4 separate regions of the Homo sapiens genome follow, and regions 2, 3 and 4 are each linked to region 1. The links are contacts of gene promoters, found by promoter capture Hi-C in blood cells and fetal thymus (Javierre and others, 2016). All regions are on one chromosome and are shown on one strand. The core of a region is centred on a gene start or on the middle of the fragment in contact, and the rest is flanking DNA. Distances in the headings are between cores, read along the strand shown.

What was found. Contacts are between HindIII fragments. The CHiCAGO score rates a contact against its expected background, and 5 or more counts as called.
Region 2: a fragment that was not itself captured here is called in contact with the fragment with the promoter of PROK1 in region 1 in 3 of 17 cell types (total B cells, endothelial precursors and naive CD4 T cells); the score reaches 6.3 in total B cells.
Region 3: a contact is called between a fragment that was not itself captured here and the fragment with the promoter of PROK1 in region 1, in 1 of 17 cell types (naive CD4 T cells). The highest score is 5.0, in naive CD4 T cells.
Region 4: a fragment that was not itself captured here is called in contact with the fragment with the promoter of PROK1 in region 1 in 17 of 17 cell types (naive CD8 T cells, neutrophils, naive CD4 T cells and 14 more); the score reaches 15.2 in naive CD8 T cells.

Annotation. Positions count from the first base shown.
Region 1 is chr1:110,449,282-110,452,854 of GRCh38, reverse strand. It overlaps PROK1 (prokineticin 1), which reads right to left and starts at 1,706. Exons shown (of 3, transcript NM_032414.3): 1 at 1,567-1,706. The coding sequence starts at 1,638. The HindIII fragment of the contact is 11,265 bases long and covers 1,127-3,573 here.
Region 2 is chr1:110,138,793-110,142,365 of GRCh38, reverse strand. No RefSeq gene overlaps it. Among named protein-coding and RNA genes, the nearest start is that of SLC6A17, 9.9 kb to the left of the region's middle. The HindIII fragment of the contact is 152 bases long and covers 1,902-2,053 here.
Region 3 is chr1:110,160,708-110,164,280 of GRCh38, reverse strand. The region is part of intron 1 of SLC6A17 (solute carrier family 6 member 17); the gene reads right to left. Among named protein-coding and RNA genes, the nearest start is that of SLC6A17-AS1, 6.4 kb to the left of the region's middle. The HindIII fragment of the contact is 4,374 bases long and covers 1-3,573 here.
Region 4 is chr1:110,188,115-110,191,687 of GRCh38, reverse strand. The region is part of intron 6 of SLC6A17 (solute carrier family 6 member 17); the gene reads right to left. Among named protein-coding and RNA genes, the nearest start is that of KCNC4-DT, 20 kb to the left of the region's middle. The HindIII fragment of the contact is 2,962 bases long and covers 514-3,475 here.

The DNA.
Region 1 (3,573 bases), core at 457-2,956:
CACTGTCCCACTCTTGGAAGAAGGATCATAAAGCCTTGGATGTGGGGACAGTTACAGTCCAGGGAGCAGGGGAGTGTAGAGGTGGTGGAGCCTGGGCTCCTGCTGAAAATCAGAAGTGGGACACCAGCAGGACATGGAGGATGTGGGGAGCCTGGGGGTTCCTGACTTCCCCTTACTGCCCTGTTCTCACCACTCACCTGTCTTTCCTGGGTTTCCCTCACCTAGGGAAAAGTGCTCTCTATTGTGCTTTTCACCGTGAAAATGTTTGCCTGCCGCTCTCAGATCTGCCTGCCCTGCTGTCACTCTGGGCCAGTGCTGGAGCTGGCACGGGTGGTGAGGCAAGCCTGGCATCCAGGCCAACCACGCTGCTCCTGCCCTCACCGCGCAGCAGCCGGGGCTTCTCTCCATTGTTCTTGCCCTCCCAGATTTTCAAGCTACCCCATAGAAGGGCAGCCTACAGTGTAAACACTTCATTAGGTATAATTCTGCCTTCACAATTATTTTTATTTTTGCTTTGGATCTCAAAAGCATTTGACTCGCCTTTAATATTTGTTCTTTTGAACTCAGTGTTTTTCCTTTAAAAGAGAAAAGAAAGAATTTGTCCTTTCTGTGAATGGTAAAATTAACCCAATTCCAGGAATTGTTTGGCATTTCTCTACATTTCCACTATCCATGTAAAAAGCTGGTGGAGGCTGAACTAAAAGTTAGTTTCCCTGCTTCCCCGACCTTTTTCTTCCAGTGGATTTTATATGGAAAGCTCTCAGGTACAGCATTGCTTTCTGCTTCAGTAAGAATGGTCCTGCTACCATAACACATCATGTGCCCCTATTTGAAGGTGGTTTGAGGTAAAAGCAAACTTCCGAGAGAAAACCATGATCTGAATATTTTGAACCAATTGTACAGTGCCCATATGCTGAACCTTTGCTTCTCTGCTTCGAGACTGGATATCTACTTGTTATCTGGATGCTTGCTTTGGGGTACACTCAGCTGAATGTTAGTGGCACCCATATTCCTCTCAGAACTAACTAGGCAGGCACAGAGTGAAAGAGTTTCAAAGATATCCTTTCTAAGCGGAGGTTAAGTTTATACAATAGAAGTTTATAAGCTTACCACCTTTAATTAAGCTTACTGCCTTTAATTAAGTCAACATGCTATGTAAATTAATATTAATATTAATATGTGAATCAGACCATAAATAAAAATTAAAATTCACACAAAAGATAAGTTAAGGTTTGCCAATCCACTTTATAAAGGAATTCCTTATTACTTAATAGGAATCTTCACTTTACCAAAGGACTGAACTTCAAAATGTTCAATGCTCTGCTAACACATTGAAAACAGGATTTGATTCATACACAGCTTCTCAAAAGCAGATCCCATTTAGTAGAGTGAGGTCTAACTAGTCTGAAAATCGCATGCAATCCCTTTAATGCATAATTCCCCATTCCCTTTGGTTCACACTGTGTTGAGCCAACAGAGCCTCCTGCATGGTTCCTGGGCTCACAACCCGTGCAGACCCTGACATCTTCCCAAAACCCAAGGCACAGAGAATGTTAGGCGACTTACCCCTGTGATCACAGCACAGTCAGACACAGTTACTAGGAGGAGCATGATTGAGACTCGCGTGGCACCTCTCATGGTCACTTGGGGTGAAGGCAAAACACTGCCTGCTTAGATGCCTCTCGCTTCCTCCCGCTCAGCCTTGTGCCTGGCAAGCTGGGGAGGCCAGGCTCTCCTGCATCCCCCGCCTCCTCCCAGATGTTTACACTCAGGATCCAGGGCTGCCTGTGGATGCCTCATCTCTGCTCTTCCCTTCTCCAACACCGATGTTACTCAGATGATCTCAGAAGCGAAGATGAGACCTGAATCTCTAACAACATCAAATCAACATCAAAACCAATAAAAATGGATACTTGGGGGGCTTTGACGGTTGCTCTAACTCTCCCAAGAACGCAGTGATTCAGACAGTTATGTATATTTCACTCAATGTTCTTTTCTGCCTCTGGGTATCCTTCTATCCTACTTGGGGCAGAGGAAAGCCTCTGGTAATGAATTAAGGGATTTGCAACATCACCATTTATGCTTCCCTGCACCAAACTATGCAACATACAAGATTATTGGTTCCCTCTCACTCACACCAAGACTTATCTAGGCATTTACCATGGGCTCAACACAGAGGTAGCTGAGAAGACAGAAGAGGGTGAGGTGGTATCCTTATTTCTCTAAAAGGTTAAAATTATAGTGAGGAGCCATAAGACAGTGAGGAAAAAAAGACCAGACTTGTGGGGCTGATGTTCCTAAGTGACACACACATAAGGATTTGCTCTCTCATGGGCTCAGGATGAACACCAGCAAGTGTCCCTTGGTACAATGACCCAAGGGCAGAAAGCCAGCAAACATACAGGGCACACACTCTCTCAGTACCCTGCAGAGCCGAGCTGGTATGGGCTGTGGCTGAAAGGTACCAGAGCCACACCACTGGCCTTCCAGTTTTAGGGGTGAGCATGAGAGTGGCCTTATCCGTGAGTGTATAAACACGGTGGTCTCAGATGCCAGTCTGGTGGGAAGTTGACTTTCGGGATGGCCCCTCCGCCTGTGAGGGAAGCCCCTGACCCCAGCCCTCTCTGTGTCATACGACCCAGAGAGAGCTCCCAGTGCTTTGTCAGATGATCTGCCTTCTCTCCACAGTAATAAAAGCCAACATTTCCCAAGGTATGTGTTGCAATATGTTAATACACAAATAAACAAATAAAAGACTTCTACAGTCAAAAATTTGGGAAACACAAACCGGCTTGTTTTTTGCAGAACTTTTCAGGGCCTTTCATATGCTAATAAGTGTTTGAAACACCAAGTGGGAAATGCAGTTTGTAGTATTTCACAAGCAGATTCATCCACAAAACCTTTCTTATCAAATGTCACAGGGGTCTAGGGTTTCCACATTGAAACGCTGATAGGCATTTATGAGTGCAGAGAGGAAGGTTAACTAGCACGGGAGCTGGGAGCTAAGCCCCCAGAGGCAGATGCTTTGATTCAGATCGATGGCTTCATGACCTTGAAAATATTGCTAATCTCTCCAAGCCTCAGTTTTCCTATCTATAACATGGGATAAGAATAGCATTTACATCATACGATTTTGCGAGTATTCATCTATTTATTTATTCATTGACTATATTTATTGAGAGCCTACTGTATAGAAGACACTGTTCTTGGCACTGGGAATATAGCAGTGAACAAAACAAAACCCTGTCCTCATGTAATTTTGACTATAGTCAAGGAGACGGGTAATAGACAAATAAACAGATTTGTAATAAAATGGCCAGTTGTGTTGAGCACTGTTAAAAAGGAAGGCCAGGCGCAGTGGCTCATGCTTGTAATCCCAGCACTTAGAAGGTAGAGGCAGGCGGATCACTTGAGGTCAGGAGTTCGAGACCAGCCTGGTCAACATGGTGAAACCCCATCTCTAGTAAAAATATAAAAATTAGCCAGCTGTGGTGGCTCACGCCTGTAATCCCAGCTACTCGGGAGGCTGAGGCAAGAGAATCACTTGAACCTGGGAGGCAGAGGTTGCAGTGA
Region 2 (3,573 bases), core at 728-3,227, 310 kb after region 1:
TTGTGGGGATGACTTTCTATCTAGGCTTAAATGGGAGGTAGAAACTTCAGAACCCTTCTGAAGCATCCCTACTCCCTCAGAGGAGACCTCAATTTCTATTCCCAGGTTCCACCTCACAGGAACTTCTAGAAAGTTCTTCATTCAGACTGTAAAATGGAAGCCTCCCTGCAGGGCCTGAGGAGGATTCCTGACACTAACAAACCCCAGTGGCGAGCAGGGTTGGGGGAGGTGGAGGAGAAATGGGGCAGAATGTGAGGAGAGAGAGGGGCAGAGAGGGGCAGAGAGGGGTCAGAGGCCCTGGAGGCCAAGAGGAAGTGCCTCCAAATCCTTTCCCATGCCCACCACCTCACCTTCCTCCATCATGACTCAGAGGAGCCTCGGAACCACCATGCCCCATGATGAAGGGGACAACTGGACAACTCTTCACAGGACCAAGAGGCACACGCAAGTAGAGGTCAGGCCCCCTTGCCCAAACTCCAAAGGCAGCGTGCCTCTTTGGCTTGTTGGAGCTCAGAGGCACCGCATATTGCCCCTAGAGAATCTGACTCTATAGAATCCTTATCGAGCAGGGCAGGCGTGCCCCCAGCTAAACATACCTATGTGTGAACATCCAGAGTGAAAATCAAAGCAGACCTTTGGAACGAGTGATTCTAAAGGACGCTTCACTTTACAAAAAGATTCCCCTCTCTTTCTTTTCCTCAAGACAATGTGATGTATATAGTCAGAAAAACTCAGGTTCTGACCCAAGCACTACCTTGACAGATGACTTTTTTTTTTTTCTTGAGACAGAGTCTCACTCTGCGTCCAGGCAGTGCAGGGGCGCAATCTCAGCTCACTGCAACCTCCACTTCCCACATTCAAACAATCCTCCCACCTCAGCCTCCCAAGAAGCTGGAACCACAGGTGCACACCACCACATCCAGCTGATTTTTTTGTATTTTTTGTAGAGATGGGGTTTTGCCATGTTGCCCAGGCTGGTCTCAAACACCTGGAATCAAGCAATCCGCCTACCTTGGCCTCCTAAAGTGCTGGGATTACAGGCGTAAGCCACTCCATGTCTGGCCTAACAGGTGACTTTTGACATATCACTATGTCAAAAGAATGTGACCTTCAGAATCTTTATTTGGAAAATGGAAGTAAAATCTGTCCTCTAACCTCATGGGGGTCATTGTAAAGATTAAATGAGATGAAACTCTGTACAGTCAAGGCAATATTATCACTGTTGCTATTAGCGATAGCTCAGAAGATGTGCCAGGCACTACTCTAAGCAACTTACCTTTATTAGCTCATCGAATCCTTAAATAGCCATTTACCCTGGGGGTTTTAAATATAATGTGCATTCTTCCCTTAAAGGCTGAAAGCCTCATTTAAAAAATAATTTACAACTGGCTGGGCGCGATGGCTAACACCTATAATCCCAGCACTTTGGGAGGCCGAGGTGGGCGTATCACCTGAGGTCAGGAGTTCAAGATCAATCTGGCCAACATGGTGAATCCCCGTTTCTACTAAAAACACAAAAATTAGCCAGGTGTGGTGGTGCGGTCTGTAATCCCAGCTACTCGGGAGGCTGAGGTATGAGAATCGCTTGAACCCGAGAGGTAGAGCTGCAGTGAGCCAAGATCACGCCACTGCACTCCAGCCTGGGCTAGAGTAAGGCTCCGTCTCAAAAAATAAAAATAAAAATAAAAAATAATTTACAACTAAAAAACTTATACAAGATAATTCAGTAACATGGTTGGATACAAAATTAACCTATTAAATATCTACACCTTCAGATATACAACAGCCAGTAGTAAGAAGATATAAAAAATGGTTCAGTTACAATAGCAACAACAACAAAAAAGAAAAATACTTAGGAATAAACTTTAAAAGGTTTCTAGAAAGTCTATGTGAAGAAAGCTTCCGAATGCTACTCAGAGATCCAAAAGAAGGTGTGAACATAGGAAAAGAAATTATATGTCCTCAGAGTGGGAGACAAAACAGAAGAAACATGTTAATTCTCTCTGAATTAATCCATAATTCTAAAATGACCCCAGTGAAAATAACAAAAGCTTTTCTTCTTTTTAACTAAACAAGCTAGTTAAACTAACACTCATATAGAAAAAGAAACAAAGAAAAAGCAGTGGAATTAGGAAAGGGAGAATTAGTGGGTGTCAGGTGAGGAATTAGCCTACCAGAGGGTGAAACACATTACAAAGCTGCAAGTTTAAATTAGTGTGGACTCAGAGATGGCACCACTGCACTCCAACCTGGGTGACAGAGTGAGACCCCGTCTCAGAAATAAATAAATAAGTAAATAAAAATAAATTAATGTGGACTTAGTTATGAGAAATACATGAGGCAGAACACACAGTCCAGAAGTAAACTCAGATACAGTCATTTAGAACATGATAAAGGTTATATTTTAAATGAGCAGAAGATGGATTTTTAATCAATGATATTGATTTGGTCATTTGAAAAGAGTAAGTCTGACTCCTTACCTTACTCTTCATACCAAAATAAATTGTAGATGTATCAATATTGATAAAAGAAAAAAATTAAGCCACAGGGATGCATCAAAAGCAGTATATAGAGGGATATTTATAGCTTTAAATAGATAGAAAAGAAGAAACGTTGAAATCAATGAACCAAGCAACCATCTCAAAAATGCAGGGAAAGAACTACAAAATAGACCCAAAGGAAATAGAAGGAGGGAATGTAGAAAATAATCAAATAGGAAAGCAAACATACAATAGAAAGGATTACCAAAGTCAGAAGTTTGTTCTTTGCAAAAGGGGATACCAGAGGCTGGGAAGGGTAGAGAGAAGGGAGGGATAGGAGCTAGATAGGAGAAATAAGCTCTAGTGTCTATAGCACTACAGTTACAGCTACAGTTAACAATAATATATTATATGATTTCAAATAGCTATAAGAAAGATATTGAATGTTCCCAATACAAAGAAATAATAAGTGTTTGAGATCATGGATATGCTAATTACTCTGATCTGATCACTATACATTATATGTATTACAACATCACTATGTACCTCATAAATATGTACAATTGTGTCAAAAAAGTTTGTTTTTTGCAAAGTCCAATTATTCTTTTAAAAATCATAAAAATACTATGGAAAAAGAAAACACAGAAAAAATTGTTATCATGTTGGGTGAAATGGGTGGTGAGACCTCTCTAAATATGACATCATCACTGGTTTTCCCTTTGCCTCATCCTGCTTTATTGCTCTTGAAATCACGTATCACCATCTGGCATTCCACTCACTTTCCTGTTCATTTGTTTGAAGATGAAAGCAAACTAGATGAAAGCCGTATCACCAGCGCCTAGAACAGTCCTGACACATAGTAGGTGTTCAGAAATATTCATTGAGTGATTGTTAAAGAAGGGGGACAGGTTTCTTTGATGAGCAAAAACCTCCTGAAAATCAGTAAGAAAAAGATAGAAAAGGATATGAATAGAAATCTCATAGAAAATGAAATATAAAGGCCCTTGCACATGTAAAAAGATGTTTAATTTCATTCATAATCAGAGAAACGCAAATTGAAAAATAATGAGATTCCATTTTACCTATTATATTG
Region 3 (3,573 bases), core at 771-3,270, 290 kb after region 1:
GAGAAGATCACTGGGTGTGGGAGTGGGAGGCATGAGCTGTGAAGCCAGACAGGCCTGGAGTTGAGAGTTCTCACTTCATTCATTGACTCACTCACTCACCTGACATACATTTCCTGAGTGCCTCCTATATGCCAGCCTCTGTTCTAGGTGTGAGGGATACAGCAGCAAACAAAACAGGCAAAGTGTCTCCTCTTGTGGAGTTTGCATTTCATGTGGAAGGGCCGGATACTAAAGAAATCGATGGATAATGTAATGGCCAGGGGTGATACATGGGGTGACTCCATGTATCTCCATGTGACTCCAGGGGAGTCACACCGGAGGGGTGGAGCAAGCTGGCAGGTGGCTCTTTTATGCTGGATGCGGGGGTTGGGGGGCAGTCAGGAAGGGCATCTCTGAGGAAGTGACATTTGAGCAGAGGCGTGAATGACAGGAAAGAGCATTGGCAGAGCGAACAGCAGACACAAAGCTCCCAAAAAGGAAACAGCCCTGGGAATTCCAGGAAGAGCAAGGTGGCCAGAGCCCCGGGGCAGAATGAGAGGCGGAGACAGGGAGAGGTGTGCTGGGGAGGGAGGAGCACGGCTGTGCTGTGTGTGAGGACTGGGGCAGGTGCTCTGAGGGAGGTGGGCAGCCCTGGGGCCTTGGCCACACACTAGCTGTGTGCTCTTGGACAAGGCACTTTAATTATGTGAGCGTCTGTCTCCTCATGGGTGAAAAGGTTGCATTTAATGATGGCTCCCATCTCCCAGGGAGGGCTGCTGTGAGGGTCCAATGAGCAGCCGCACACAGAGTGCCTGACATAGAGCTTGGCACACAGAAAGGACCCAAATGGTAGCAGCCACTGCCTGGAAGCCTTGCATTGTTTACCTTTATGCATTTAAAAAATATGTAAGTCCCCATATTGATATTTGGTCCCATCAATCCCATTTCTTCTCAAGAAAGGCCAAGGAGAGCTGACCATGGGAGTGGAGGTGGGTGGAGAGAAGCATCCTGCACCACCTCAGCAATGCCCACTTTCTTCTCCAGAACTGGTGTCCACCTAGGGCACCCCCTAGAAAGTCCTACCATGCACCACACCCCAGTGTCAAAGGAAGCCAGGCAAAGGTCCCGCAGCTACCAGCTTGGACCCAAAAGACCAGCAATATTATTATTAATAAAAACACGGCCTGTATTAAAAGTTTAGCATTATTGTTATTAAAATGTACCTCATGTTTGGAATAGCTTGAGACCGCTTAAAACCATTTTTTTTTTTTTTTTTTTTTTTTACCAACATGGGTTGGTGATCCTGCTCAGGAGTAAGATGGCCTGGGTTCCAACCCCAGCTCACTGCTTGCCAGCCACCTGGCCTGGGCAACTTTTCTAGCCTCTCTGAGCTTCAGTTTCCTCATGTGTCAAGGGAGGGTGCCAGCGGTGCCCACCTCACCATACTGTGAGGAGGATACATTGTACTGGTCTTAGAACCATGCCGGCACCCAAGAAGTGCTCATGAATGGTACCTCTTCTTCAGCTCTCATTCAATTCATACCCCAGTGGAAATAGTGACTTGGAATAACCCTCCCTGCTCCACCCCCAGTTCCCTGAAGCCATGTGCTGGTGAAAGGTGAGCTTTTAGAGCAGGCAGGGCCTGGGAATCCAAAGTGTACCCAGCCAATGACCCCAAAGCCTTGTCTGGGAGAAGCATCAGGATCAGAGAAGGACCCTGAGAGGGGCGATTCCTCTCTTCCCGTACCCATGTATCTCATGGAACCAGCCATAATCCAGGCATCAGCAGGCCAGCTAGGTGCTGGGCCTGACCAACCTACCGTGCAAACTGGTACTATTGCCCTAACTTCTCCGGATCTCAGTTTTCCTGTGTGTAAAATGGGTTGGCATGGATGGCCTCCAAGACCCCCTTCAGCTCTAGCATATATCTGTTGAGAGTCCCTCCTGCTTATGGGTGTGAGCAAGAAGCCACCTGCCCCAGGCACCTGTAACAATGGATGCGAAAGGTAAGTTCTGTCTGCCCTGCCACCCTCCATCAGCTGAGAGCCCACTGGAGCATGGTAGAGATGTGGTGACAGCCAGCCCAGCCGTATTCTAATTATCCCCCCCTTAGTAGCTGGGGTGGGTTGTGAAGTGGCTTTCACGAGCAACACGTCGGATGATGAAGCTGCAAGGTACTCTCTGAAAGGAGTGCCTCCATCCCTGAAAGCACAGCGCAGAGGGGCACGAGTGCCGAGAAGGCCCTTGGTGCCAGCTTGTCACTTAGCAACAGAGGTGGCTTGCAGCTCAGAATAGCTCCTGTGAGAGAAGGAGGTCGGAGCAAGTGAACTGCGAATCTTCTTGAAAGGAGAAAAAATAGTGTGACTGGGAGGCAGACAGGTAAAAATATCTCCTGCCAGAGGGGTGAGGGCTCCACGAAAATTTTTCAAGCACAGCATCCGGCAATAAGCTCAAGGTGGTGGGGGATGGCTGCTCTCACCCTGGCACCAGGACAAAGCCTGGAGCCCCTCCACCCCACAGCAGCCGGGGAGGAGGAGAAGGGAAGAGGGGCACTTTTGTAATGATGAAGGCAGCTCCCTGAGCACCCACCTCCTGGGCCTGGGGTGTTTCTTGCTGGGGAAGGTTCAGGTAACTCAAGGGACAAAGAGAATCATTTATTTTCCAAGTTAGACTCCCCAGGGGAGGTGAGTGGGGGAGCCACCATCTTTGGGGAAGCAGGCAGTCACCTAATTACAACGACCACAGACACCACAGTGCCTACCCTGCCCCGCCCCTCCCCGTGCTCCTGATCCTGCTACCCTTGGGTCTTGTGGCTCTGGAAAGAGTGGCTGTGGCCAAGCACATCCTTAAAAAGCACCTCTTCAGGGTGTTCCAACAGGCACCCTGAAGAGCCCCCAAGAAGAGGAAATCAGTGGAAGTGGTCCCCACTCAGGACCTCAAAGCCAACATCTAACTCAGGTATAATTGGTGGTGAGTAGAAACCAAGTCAGAGGATGCTTGGCAGCTTCCTGATTTCTTCATGACAGGCAGCTGTGGCCCAAACTGTTCTCCTAATTACCTCAGAGCCCCTGAGCTTTTACTGAGCCCAAAACAGGCCGGACTATTATCAGAGACACAAATTATTTTTAATTGTTTTATTAAAACCTCTGACAGTCACCTGGGGCAAACTGCTCCTGACAGGGCCTGGCCTTGACTTGGAGGCTGCTGCCCCTGGATGCTGCTGGCCCAGGACACAGGCAGGGACCCCACACCCTTCTTGACCTCTCTTGCCTCCACCCCCACCAGGTGTTGCAAGTCCTGTAGGCGTGCTCAGCTCTGTCCTCTTCCCACCCCTCTGCTCTAGTTCAAGCCTGCTCTCTGGCTAGATGCCTACAGCAGGCTCCCAGCTCACTTTCCCCGCTGGCATCCTACACATTGCCTTCAGTGGCATCTTCTAGAAATGCCACGCCACCCCACTCCCACTGCCTACTGAAGGGAGCCCAAGGCCCTTTCCCAGGCATTTGGGCCCCCTCTATCTCCCGGGCCTCGGCTTCCACTTCCTCCCAGCCCACTCACCACTCACTCTAGACTAACCACTTCCCATCCCCTGACAGC
Region 4 (3,573 bases), core at 745-3,244, 260 kb after region 1:
GCAGCCATCATACTAAGGAACATCGTCAAGGCCATCACATATGGTCATGTAGTACACAGCTCTAGAGAGTGCCATTCACTTGGACTACAGTGTGACAGGTGCCTCCTAGAGTCCTGCAGTGAACAGCTTGCACAGCAGCACAAGAAAACTGAGAATACCAGAATCTCCCTGACGCCTTCTCCACCTCAAACTCCTCTACCTCATGAAAGGAAAAAAAACCCAAACCGCCTGCTTTTCCCCACCATCACCCAACCTGAAGCACAGAACCTAGACAATTCCTGGAGAAAGGGCCTCCGCCTAAGCTTCCATCTGCCCTCACACCTGACAGGAGCCCGAACTGCAACAGCATTGGGATGGCATGGAGCAATTTCCAAAGCCCCTTTCCAACCTATTTTCCTTTTATTGTTTGTTCCTTGGGGCAGGGACCAAGCCTTGGACCCAGCACAGAGCTTTAGAGTCTCAGACAGATCCAGATCCAAATCCTGACTCCCATCTTTAAATGGCTATGAAGCTTTTGGTAAGTGGCACTGACTGTGTTATGAGCTTCAGATTACTCATCTGAAGAAAAGGGAATAGTAATAGAGTCTCGGAGTGAACGTGAGGATCAAATGTATAGCAACAAGTAATGCCTGTACGTAGTGGCACTCAATCCCAACAGAATGAGGCTGACCTCGTCAGGACAGGGTGTTTTGTGTTTTGCGGGGGTGCAGGAAGCAAGGATTACTATTCATGTTTTTAAAGGGTAAACTGAGACCCCAAAGATGAAATGACTTGCTCAAGGTAATGGAGCTGGTTAGTCGGGGCAGAGTGATAACTAAAATATAGATATTCTGGGCCAGGCCCCCGCCCCCGGCCCCAGCACCAACTCCTGACTCAGTTTTTCTATCACCTATACTCTTTAAAGCATTTTCCCCTGTGACCTTTGCTGCTGAGGTGAACCTAAGTGACCTCACTCCAGACAGACTAAGGAGGCAAGGAGCCAATTCAGAGAGTTCACTTCCCTGTGGTGACAAGCCCTGTGTGGGTCCTGGCCCGGCTGCCCCTTCTGAGTACCTGTGGGTAAGTCCTCACCTGAACAGTGAGGTGTTGGACTCTAGGGTCCGTCTGGACTTTAGCTGTCTTTAATATCACAGCCCTAAATAACATCCAGGACACAGGGCCCACCTGCCATCATCTCAGCAGCTTCCTAGGCATGTCTCAACTCCTGGCAGCACTCCAACAGCTGAGATGTTGGCAAGCTCAGAGCGCTGGCAGAGCAGTGAGGCTGAGGGCGGCACCCCCATGCTGAGGGGAAAGAGGTGGGGGATGGTAGTCGAGCCTTTGAGCTTCAGGGCCTGGGCACAAATGGAGACCCAGGAGGACTGCCTGGTCAGACAGCATGTGTACTCCAGGGGAGATTAAGGTCCCCCATCCAGCACAAAATAAGTAAAACCATCTTTAGTCCACCAAGAAAGCCCAGAACCCAGGCCTTAAGGATCTAAGGGCCCCTTGGCATCTATGAGGAGACCCTCTCCCCAGCCCACCCCTGTGTACTTATTAGGTATAAGGTGTCAAGGCCTCCCTGTGGCAATGACATGTAGCCACTCATCCATCAATCTCTGAGCACCTGCTGTGGGCCAGGCCTGGTGCTAGGCGATGCAGAGGCCATGGGGAATAGAAGCAATCAGGCTCTCCAAGTTTACATTCTAGTTGGAGAGAGACACATTGGTCAAATGATCCCACGAACAAATGCTAAATTGCAAATGTGACAAGGGCTGTGAAGGCTGGGCACCCAGTGCTTGGAGAGCCCATAAGAAGGGGATCTGAACAAGTTGGGAGGCCAGGCAAGGCTTCCCAGAAGAAGGGGTCCTCAAGCTGACATTTGAAAGCTGATGAAAGCGAGGCCACAAGGGGAGGGAAGAACATTCGGGAAGAAGCATGGACAGAGGTCCTGAGATAGGACAGAGGATGGTGTGTAAAAGGGAATGGAAGGTGCCAGGGTGGCTGAAGCAGTGAGGACGAGGTGGGGGTGGCACAGGTAGGGCTGGGAGAGGAGAGAAGTTAGATCAAAGGCCTGTACAGATCCTGTCTTCACCCTAAGAAAGCACCTAACCCAAGAAGCCACCGAGGGGTTTAAAGAAGTGGGGACACAATCATGTGCATTTCCAAAAGAAATAAGTGGATTCAGCAGACCTTCGAGGAAGCGGCTTCTGGGGTCCAGGCTGGAGGGGACAGTGGCTTTGCTAAGGGGCTGGGTGGTGCCAATGGAGAGATCTTCGCAGGACAAACCAAGGAGACCTTCGGGATGGACTGGAGATGGGAGATGCTGGAGAGGGAGAGGCCGAGGTGAGGGCCATGTCTCTGGCCTGCATACCTGAGCAGGTGGAGATGGGGACAGTGGGAGAGGAACAGGTTGATGGTGTTGGGCAGGGAGGATCAGGACATTAGTTCTACAAAGGTTGAGCTGAATGTGTCTTTAAGACATCTAAAATGAAATGCCAAGTGGTCCGCTGGACAGATGAGCCTGGAGCCAGAGAGAGACAAGCTGGAGATAGACTTTCTGAGTAGCAGGTGTGCTGGCAGGAGCTGAGGCTGTGGCTGTAGTTACAGAGGGATAAGAAGCAAAAGCCTGCTCCTATCTCCAACACTGAATGCAGGGAAGAGGGAGAGTCTCCTGAAAGGGAGTCAGAGAAGGAGAAGCAGCAGAGGCAAGAGGAAAACCCAGAGCCTGGAGGAGGAAGGGTCAGTGCTGCCAGTGAAAGACCCTGAGGGAGTCCACGCAGGAGGCCACAGGGGGCTTCAGAGGCTTCCTCGGAGTTGCTCCCTGGCAAGAAGCCAGGGGAAGTGAAGAAAAGAGAGAGGCAGAGGGGAGGAAATGGAGGCAATGTGGGTAAGCAGGTCCTCGGAGAAGCAAGCCTCGGATCAGGAGAAGGGCAGTATCCGGAGAAGGCTATGAAATCAACAAAGGGTTGCATTTTTATATGTTGTCTTGATTTCTTTTTTGTTTTTGTTTTCAATGGAGTGTCTTGAAAAGCTGGAGGGTAGGGATCGGGATGGGGTGGGAAGCTGTCCTCCATAGGACCACCCTTGGGCTGCTCATTTGAGAGAGGAGGGAGGGAGGACAGGATGGGGCAGCTGCAGGCAGGTTTTATGGTCGGTTTCTGTCTCTGTCATCTGAGGGAGTTTCTTGGCAGCTTCTGTTTTCCCTGTAAAGCAGGAGGCAAAATCATCTGCTGGGGATGAGTATGCCGGAAGGAAGGTCAGAGGGTGTGAAGGATTGGAAGGGTTTAAAATAGCCACAGCGGAGCATGGGAGAGCCAGGTGACCAGAGAAACAGGGCAGGGCTGTCCTGTACTGCTGGGGGCCCACCCCCTTGCATAGGCGGATGTCTGGTTTTTAAAGTAAGATGAAATGTTACCTTCTTTACAAATGTAATACAGGCCCACGGTTCCTTATCTAAAAGCCCTGGGGGCTGACTGGTTTTGGAATACAAGCTTTTGTTTCTAATTTAATTTTAGAAAGGTAATGTGATGCATATGCTACTTAATTACATATCACCCCCAGCAGGGTCTGGGGCAGCACCCTGTAATCAAA